2 separate regions of the Homo sapiens genome follow, and region 2 is linked to region 1. Evidence: promoter capture Hi-C in 16 types of primary human blood cells and fetal thymus (Javierre and others, 2016). All regions are on one chromosome and are shown on one strand. Each heading gives the region's core, a stretch centred on a gene start or on the middle of the fragment in contact. The rest is flanking DNA. Distances are from core to core; before and after follow the strand shown. Region 1 holds the start of ZNF786 (zinc finger protein 786). Region 2 has its middle 3.3 kb from the start of TRC-GCA9-3.

Evidence for each region. Contacts are between HindIII fragments. The CHiCAGO score rates a contact against its expected background, and 5 or more counts as called.
Region 2: a fragment that was not itself captured here is called in contact with the fragment with the promoter of ZNF786 in region 1 in 1 of 17 cell types (neutrophils); the score reaches 5.6 in neutrophils.

What each region holds. Positions count from the first base shown.
Region 1 is chr7:149,089,081-149,093,116 of GRCh38, reverse strand. ZNF786 (zinc finger protein 786) reads left to right here and starts at 2,399. Exons shown (of 4, transcript NM_152411.4): 1 at 2,399-2,494. The coding sequence starts at 2,477. RefSeq lists silencers at 1,548-2,037, 2,158-2,457. The HindIII fragment of the contact is 38,912 bases long and covers 1-4,036 here.
Region 2 is chr7:149,630,398-149,634,433 of GRCh38, reverse strand. No RefSeq gene overlaps it. Among named protein-coding and RNA genes, the nearest start is that of TRC-GCA9-3, 3.3 kb to the left of the region's middle. The HindIII fragment of the contact is 2,807 bases long and covers 515-3,321 here.

The DNA of each region.
Region 1 (4,036 bases), core at 1,150-3,649:
GTTAATAGTTAAAAGTTCATGGCAGGGTGCAGTGGCTCACACCTGTAATCCCAGCACTTTGGGAGGCCGAGGTGGGCGGATCACGAGGTTAGGAGATGGAGACCATCCTGACTAACACGGTGAAATCCCGTCTCTACTAAAAATACGAAAAATTAGCGGGGCAGGCATGGTGGCATGCGCCTGTAATCTCAGCTACTCGCGAGGGTGAAGCAGGTTTTTTTGTTTTTTGGTTTTTTTTTTTTGAGACAGAGTCTCGCTCTGTCGCCCAGGCTGGAGTGCAGTGGTGCGATCTCAGCTTACTGCAAGCTCCGCCTCCCGGGTTCACACCATTCTCCTGCCTCAGCCTCTAGAGTAGCTGGAACTACAGGCGCCCGCCACCTCGCCCGGCTAATTTTTTGTATTTTTAGTAGAGACGGGGTTTCACCGTGTTAGCCAGGATGGTCTCGATCTCCTGACCTCGTGATCCGCCCGCCTCGGCCTCCCAAAGTGCTGGGATTACAGGCCTGAGCCACCGCGCCCGGCCAGCAGGAGAATCACTTGAACCCAGAGGCTGCAATGAGCTGAGATCGTGCCACTGCACTCCAACCTGGGCAACAAGGGCAAGACTTCGTCTAAAAAAAAAAAAAAAAAGTTCATAGCAGTATACATTAAAAAATTGTACTGTATACACTTCGGGAGGCCGAGGCGGGTGGATCACCTGAGGTTGGGAGTTCGAGACCAGCCTGACCAACATGGCGAAACCCCGTCTCTACTAAAATACAAAAAATTAGCCGGGCATGGTGGCGCGTGCCTGTAGTCCCAGCTACTCGGGAGGCTGCGGCAGGAGAATAGCTTGAACCCGGGAGGCGGAGGTTGCAGTGAGCCGACATCCCACCACTGCACTCCAGCCTGGCGACAGAGCAAGACTCTGTCTCAAAAAAAAAAAAAAAAAAAAAAAAAAAAAAGCCAGGCGCGGTGGCTCACGCCTGTAATCCCAACACTTGGGGAGGCCGAGGCAGGTAGATCACAAGGTCAGGAGTTTGAGGCCAGCCTGACCAACATGGTGAAACCTCGTCTCTACTAAAAATACAAAAATTAGCCGGGCGTGGTGGCAAATGCCTGTAATCCCAGCTACTCGGGAGGCTGAGGCAGGAGAATTGCTTGAATCCAGGAGACAGAGGTTGCAGTGAGCCGAGATTGCGCCACAGCACTCCAGCCTGGGTGACAAGAGTGAGACTTTGTCTCCAAAAAAAAAAAATTGTACTGTATAACAGTTGTAAAAATAAAAAACGTTAAACAGTAAGGTGCATGTACATTTCACGATTCTGTGGCAAACACAGATGCGTATATGCTCCTCAGCCTACGCAGGGACTATTTTATTTCTTATGCACATCCTCTCCAAACTACACACTTTTCCTTTGCTACTTCAGCCTGACACCTAAGACATGACTAAGACAGAATGCGAGGTTGATTTTCTGGAGACAATCGCCACCCCCTTCCTCGCCCTCTCTCCTTTCTGTCTCTTCCTGGTTTCCCCACCTCTCCCCTGTTCTTGCGTTCTCGTGTTTCTCACGCCCTGTGTCATGGCCTCCTCCGTCTTCTCCTCCTACTCTGTCTCTGTCTCCTGCCGGGGCCCGGGGTGCCCGACCGCAGCCTTGGGCCACCCTGAGTCCCTGCAGGCGGCCCTGAGGCCGGGGTGGCTTCCGCATGGGGTCTCTGCCCAAGGCCGTTCTCTGCTAAGGAAGGAGCGTGGCCGCCCGGGGAGCCCGGAGGGCTCTAGACCCACGGCGACCGGACCTGGTGGGCGGACCCCGCCTCCGCGTCCCCGGCGGGACAAGCATGGGGCCCCCACGGCCTCCGCGCCCCCGGCGGGACGGATGCCCCGGGCCACCGCGGGCAGCGCGCGCCCCCCACCCACTTTCCGGCCTCGCTGGATTCCCGGGACCCCCTCACAGACGAAGCCTGTCTCGGGGGCGGCTTTGGGAGGAACCGCACCGGAGGTTCCCCTCTCGCTGCCTCTCAGTCTGGGTTTCTGTGGAGCGCGTCTCCCTGTCCCTGTCCCTGATCTCTCCCTGTCCCTGTCCCTGATCTCTCCATGTCCTGCCCCTCCGTTTCCCCTCCGGCCAGCTCCTCAGCTTGTCTCTGACCGCTTCCCTCCCCAGATCCCGGGAATCCGAGGGTCCCTCAAAGACCGGCGTGCTGCGGCCTGCTCTGAGGGCGCCCGGGCCCCTGGGTCCCTCCTCTGAGGACCGACGCTCAGGCAGCGCCGCTTCTTCCTCCCGCAGGAGGCGCTGTAGGACTGAGCGGCAGCCGCGGCCGGGCGCCGGGTCCCAGCATGCACCGCGCCCGGCCGGCGCTGCGTTTGGGGGCCACCCGGGCTGTGCGTGGGAGTCGGGTTGGGGCGGAGCGGAGGGGAGTCAGTGCGCAGCAGGGCAGGTTCCTGCGGAGCCGCCGGAGACGGTCGGGTTTGCCAGGGCCGGGCGGGACCGCGGGGACCATGGCGGAGCCGCCTCGGGTAAGCGGGCTAGCCTGTTTGGACGCCCGGTTTCGGGGTCGTGGTGGGTCCTCGGGTTCCGGGCTCGCCCGTGTCCTGGGGTCCCCGTGAGTGCGCGCGGTGCACGGGTAGGACGGAGTCTGCAGGCTGCTTCTGCTGGGGATGTGGATTCCGGGCCCTGCGGTGAGCAGGTGGCCTCCGCTCCCGCGGCTTGTCCGTGGCCAAACCCCTGGACAAAGCCGAGCGTGGACCGAGGCCGACCTAGGAGCGGGGCGGAGCCTGGGCGAGGATGCCGGGCGGACGGGGAGCGGACGGTGGAAAGGATAGAAAGGTTTGGGGCCAGAGGTGGATGTTACAGGTCAACCAGTTTTACATCATAGTCACCGAAATCAGAACAACTGTTCCAAAAAGTTTAAGATTCCGAATGGTTGAAATGGTGTTTGGCGGGGGCTTCAATGTCAGAATTTATTGTCTAGCGTGATTTGGGTTGAGTGTAAGATGATACGTTGGGAAGAGTAGAAGAGGATACAAAAAATTAAGTTAGTGGTTTCTTAAAATCGAGGTTTAGAGGGTATTTTTATCTTGTAAACTTTAATGTTGAGGATTTTTGCTGATTATTAAATGAATTAGGCCGGGCGCGGTGGCTCACGCCTGTAATCCCAGCACTTTGGGAGGCCGAGGCGGGTGGATCACGTGAGGTCGGGAGTTCGAGACCAGCCTGGCCAACATGGTGAAACCCCAACTCTACTAAAAATACAAAAAATTAGCCTGGCATGATGGCGGGCGCCTGTAATCCCAGCTACTCGGGAGGCTCAGGCAGGAGAATTGTTTGAACCCGGGAGACGGAGGTTGCAGTGAGCCGAGACTGCACCATTGCACTCCAGCCTGGGCAACAAGAGCGAAACTCCGTCTCCAAAAATATATACATACCTATATATATGGGGAAAGGATATAAACAGCCAAATCACAGACCTGAAAATAAATTATTAATGAGTAAAAGAATGGATTTTAAAACTTGTGACATTCAGGCCAGGCGCCGTGGTTTACGCCTGTAATCCCAGCACTTTGAGAGGCCGAGGTGGGCAGATCACTTGACGTCAGGAGTTCAAGACCAGCCTGGCCAACATGGCGAAAAACTGTCTCTACTAAAAAATACGAAAATTAGCTGAGTGTGGTGGCGGACGCCTGTAATCCCAGCTCCTCGGGAGGCTGAGGTAGGGAGAATTGCTTGAACTCGGGAGGTGGAGGTTGCAGCGAACTGAGATGGCGCCACTGCACTCCAGCCTGGGCGACAGAGCGAGACTCTATCTCAAAAACAAACAAACTTGTGACATTCAGACGGTGGAACACTATACAAAATTAAAATAAATTAGCTACATATATGATCAACAGGGCCGGGCGTGGTGGCTCACGCCTCTAATCCCAGCACTTTGGGAGGCCAAGGCGGGCGGATCACGAGATCAGGAGATCGAGACCATCCTAGCTAACACGGTGAAACCCCGTCTCTACTAAAAATACAAAAACAAAAATTAGCTGGGCGTGTGGGCGGGAGCCTGTAGTCCC
Region 2 (4,036 bases), core at 669-3,168, 540 kb before region 1:
TCTAGTCATACCTCGAGGAAGACGATCAAGGAAGGGACAAGTCCCCTGCTCAGTGATAAAACCACATATACAGCAAGAGAAATAGACAAGTCGTCTTCCCTGTATGAGAGAGATGGCTGAGTTGGGGTGGGGGCAGCAGGGCAGTTGCTAGGAAGCCCTCCTGAAGAGCAAGAAAGAGAGCAACTAATGCAGCTCTTGTACGAATCCAATGGCCCCTGCATGAAGAAGGAGGAATCTGAAGCCCTCTCTGCCTGAAATGGTCCTACGACCCCAAGTACCAGGCGAGCTCCTGTCTTCTCAGTCTGGATCTCACTGTGGTGGCCCTAAAAAGAGTCAGTGACTGTCCTTAGGAGATGGCTTCCTGCATTGAGTGTGCCTGTGGAAGTAGCCAGCTGGTGTGCAGCTCATGCTGGAGCGAACATCAACAAGGAATCAACTGCACACTGTGGCCACCCTACCCCAGAGTCCCCTCTTCCTCCTACATTAGAATTCCCCTCGGAAACTGCCCTAAGCTTCCAATAGGGAAATTACATAAATTACTCAGACCAATGTGCTAACTGTAAGGAGACTAGAAGGTTAGCAATAGTTGGAGTCCTTGTACCAGCATACAGACAATTTTACATGGCATGGGAACTCCAGGCATGACTGACCTTGCCAGGGGGTGGCTCTTCACAAAACCAGAGGTAGTAAGAGACCTAAGAGCCCAAGGAAGTAAAAGTATAGATGAAAAGAAGTCAGTTGGGCAAATTTTCCTCTCAAATTTCCCTGCCCCACCTTCCGGAAACTATGCAATATTGCCCTCAGCAAGGAAGAAGAGAGCAGATGGGCAAGCCTCTTTTGTGATGGCAAATTCCATCTTCATAAAAGAGAACTTGTCTCCTCTGGTGGGCATGATGTGGTGAAGACTGGCTCCAGGTGTCCCAATGTGGACTCTCAGGGGGTCCTAAAAGGGGCTGGGAGAGTGAAACACACACAAGGCACAGACAGAGGCAGCCCAAGGAGACCACAGGGATCAGTGAGAGTTTCCTGGGGCGGGAGTCACTACCTGCCTCATCTCACTGTGCAGAAGCCTTAGCTGGGCAAAGGAGGTGAACTCCAGCACCAGCTTCTATGGCTAAAATGGACAGTAGGTGCCCTGGAAAAAGCCAGCAGGATGGCCACACTACCCAAGAGAGAGAATTTTTCACATCAGCCCCAATGGTATACACACTACTTATGCATAATAACTACCACAAATATTTCACCTTACCAGTACGCCATGAATGAAACATCACTTCCTCAAGGAAAGTGTCCTTACCTCCTGCAATCGCTTTGATATCCCAGTAATAGTCTTATAATATCCCTGCATCTTACCATCTAGTATTTCTCATATTTTCCATTTTTAACTTCTGTGAACATTTGTACATCTTGATCTATTCCTCTAGTTTCAAGAGCCCATGTCTGTTTCAGTCACCATTGGGATAGGTTGTGTACGGACATGGGCTTCCACTCTGGATTAGATGGGAGTGATTGGAGGATTTCTTGCAGAGGAATAACATAAGCTGATTTCGTCCTCTGGCTGGCCTGAGGGCACTAGAGGACATGTATGGAAGCCGGGACACAAGTTCAGGAAGTTGTCACCATAACCTGGATGAGAGATGATTTCAGCTTTGTCTGATGGTGGAGGCAATGAGAAGTGGTCAGATTTTGGATATATTTTGAAGCAGTGTGAACAGGATTTGCTGATGATTTGAGAGCAGGGTGTGAGAGAAAGGGAAAAGTCAAGGATAATGCCAAGGTTTTCTGTCCTGAGCACCCGGCGGGATGGGGGGGCCATTCTCTGAGATGGCCATTTTCATTGCAGCAGAAATGAAATTTGAGGGGGTGGTGGAAGTCAGGAGTTCAATCTGTGATGTATTAAATTGAATCCATCTGTTAAATGGTCTAATGGAGATGTCAAAAATGAAGCTGGAGTTCGAAGGGGAGGTGTTGGCTAAAGATATAAATTTGAGGGTCATCATCCCATTAAAGCCGCAGGATGGAATGAGAGCACTGAGGAAGTGGGAGTGAAAAGAAAAGTGGTCTAGGAACTAAGACCTGGGCCCTCGAATGTTTAAAAATGGGGATGTTAAGGAGAAACCAGCAAAAGAGATTGAGGAAAAGTGGCAGAGAAGTACAAAGAAAACAACAGAAAAAGAGTGACAGCCCCAATGTCGATTGAAAAAAAAATGCTACTGAGGGCTTGAATTAAAGATGAGAATCACCCATGACACATGGTCACCAAGGACTGTGACAAGCACAGTCTCAGTGAAGTGGAGCACTTGGGTGGGTGTTCTCCTGGGAAGCCCTCCTGACCCTCCTGATGGGTGGGACCCCTGCCACATGCTCCATGGCTCCTGTATGTCTATCAAAGCACACACAGTTCACCATAATTGCTGCAAAGATGTGCCTGTAGGGTTCCCTGTATATCATGAATGGCCAGTACATATATGAATATGCTCAAATGTGTCAATAAAAAAGAGAGGATATATTAATGGAAGGAGATCCCAGGGAAAGCCAAAGGGTGGATAAAGAACACAGGATGTGCTCTAGAGAGGAGCAGGCAGGCTTTTCCTCTTAGCCTGGAGGGGATGAGGAGAAGGTGAAGATGCAGAGCAGAGGATGCTGGGGGGCCTCCATGGCCTTGGTCTTCTCAGTCAGATAGAAAACAAAGTCTTCCAAAGAGAATAAAGGAGGTAGGGTGGGAATCATTACTTGGGAAGAAGGGCAAAGTGTGAATCAGGCACTGTGGGAAATGGAGAAGAAGTGAATTAGAAAGGAATAGAATCATTGCTCATTAGAGAGAGGCACTGGTTGAGGTCAAACTGGTGTAGATTTGCAGTGGGACCATTTGCCTGGCTCTACAATTTACTCCATCAAAGACTGGCTTCCCCAGAGCAAAGGTGGGAAAGGCCAAAGGCGTGTGTATCCGCGGAAGCAGAAGGGCTCATGAGAGAGGTAGATAGACCACAGACCAAGCTCTCAAAGGAGCTGGAATCATGACTGAGAGGCCAAACATGGGATCAATAATGGGCAGGCAGATAGCTGAGCCCCAAGGTGGCCCTGCGGTCATGGGAACAGAGAGAGGTAGACAAGATTAAGGTCAAAATGAGGATAATGAAACATTTTTGGTAACAGTAAGAACATGTAAACATCAGAAAACGTGTCATAAAAGGACTTTTCTGATTCTAAGATCTTGAAAGGGAATAGTTTAAGTGATGATCAGGTTTGGCTATGAATGCTGAACACCCAAAATAACAAAGGATGGAAGCAAAACAAAAACAAGCAAACAAACCAGAAGCTTCCTTTTCTCCCACATAAAAGTCCACAGCTAGGTGGTCCAGGCATGGCTTTCCATAGGGTCAAGAACCCGATTTCTTCTTTGTGGCTGTCTGGCTGGCTTGGCTTTCATTCCAGCATGCCATCACCCACATTAGCATCTCATCGACCTCCCAGCCAGTAGGAAGGAGGAAAGACAAGCCTCTCCATATAAGAACACCCATCACTTTCACCTGCATCTCATTGACCAGCCTTATGCCTATGGCCTCACAGCTCCAAGGGGGTCTGGGAAATGCAGTTTTTCTTCTGGGAAGCCATGTGCTCAGCTGATAACCAAAAGGCAGGGTAGAAGACACTGGTGGAAAACTCTGAATCTCTGCCTCACCACACACCTTGAAGGCCGCAGTGAACGGAGTTTGTGAACATTCCTAGAGCCAGGAAGATGGAAATCTTGGGAGGCCTTAGCATTGGAAGCACATTACCTTGGAGTTTGACATTCCCGAGAATGAAAGCAGGAGGAGGTGAGGAAAATACGATTGTTAGCCTAGTTCTAAAAATTTCCACTAGGTTTGTGGAGAAGACATGAATGTGGAGAGGAGAGCGTGGTGAAAGGAGATGGCTTTGAGAGAGAAGCAGGGAGGGATGGTGGAGGAGCTGGGGTTTGGGGGCAACATGGAGAATGAGGCTGAGAAGGTGACCCCACCCTCTCAGTTCTGGAGGTTGAAGGGGAGGGATGGCT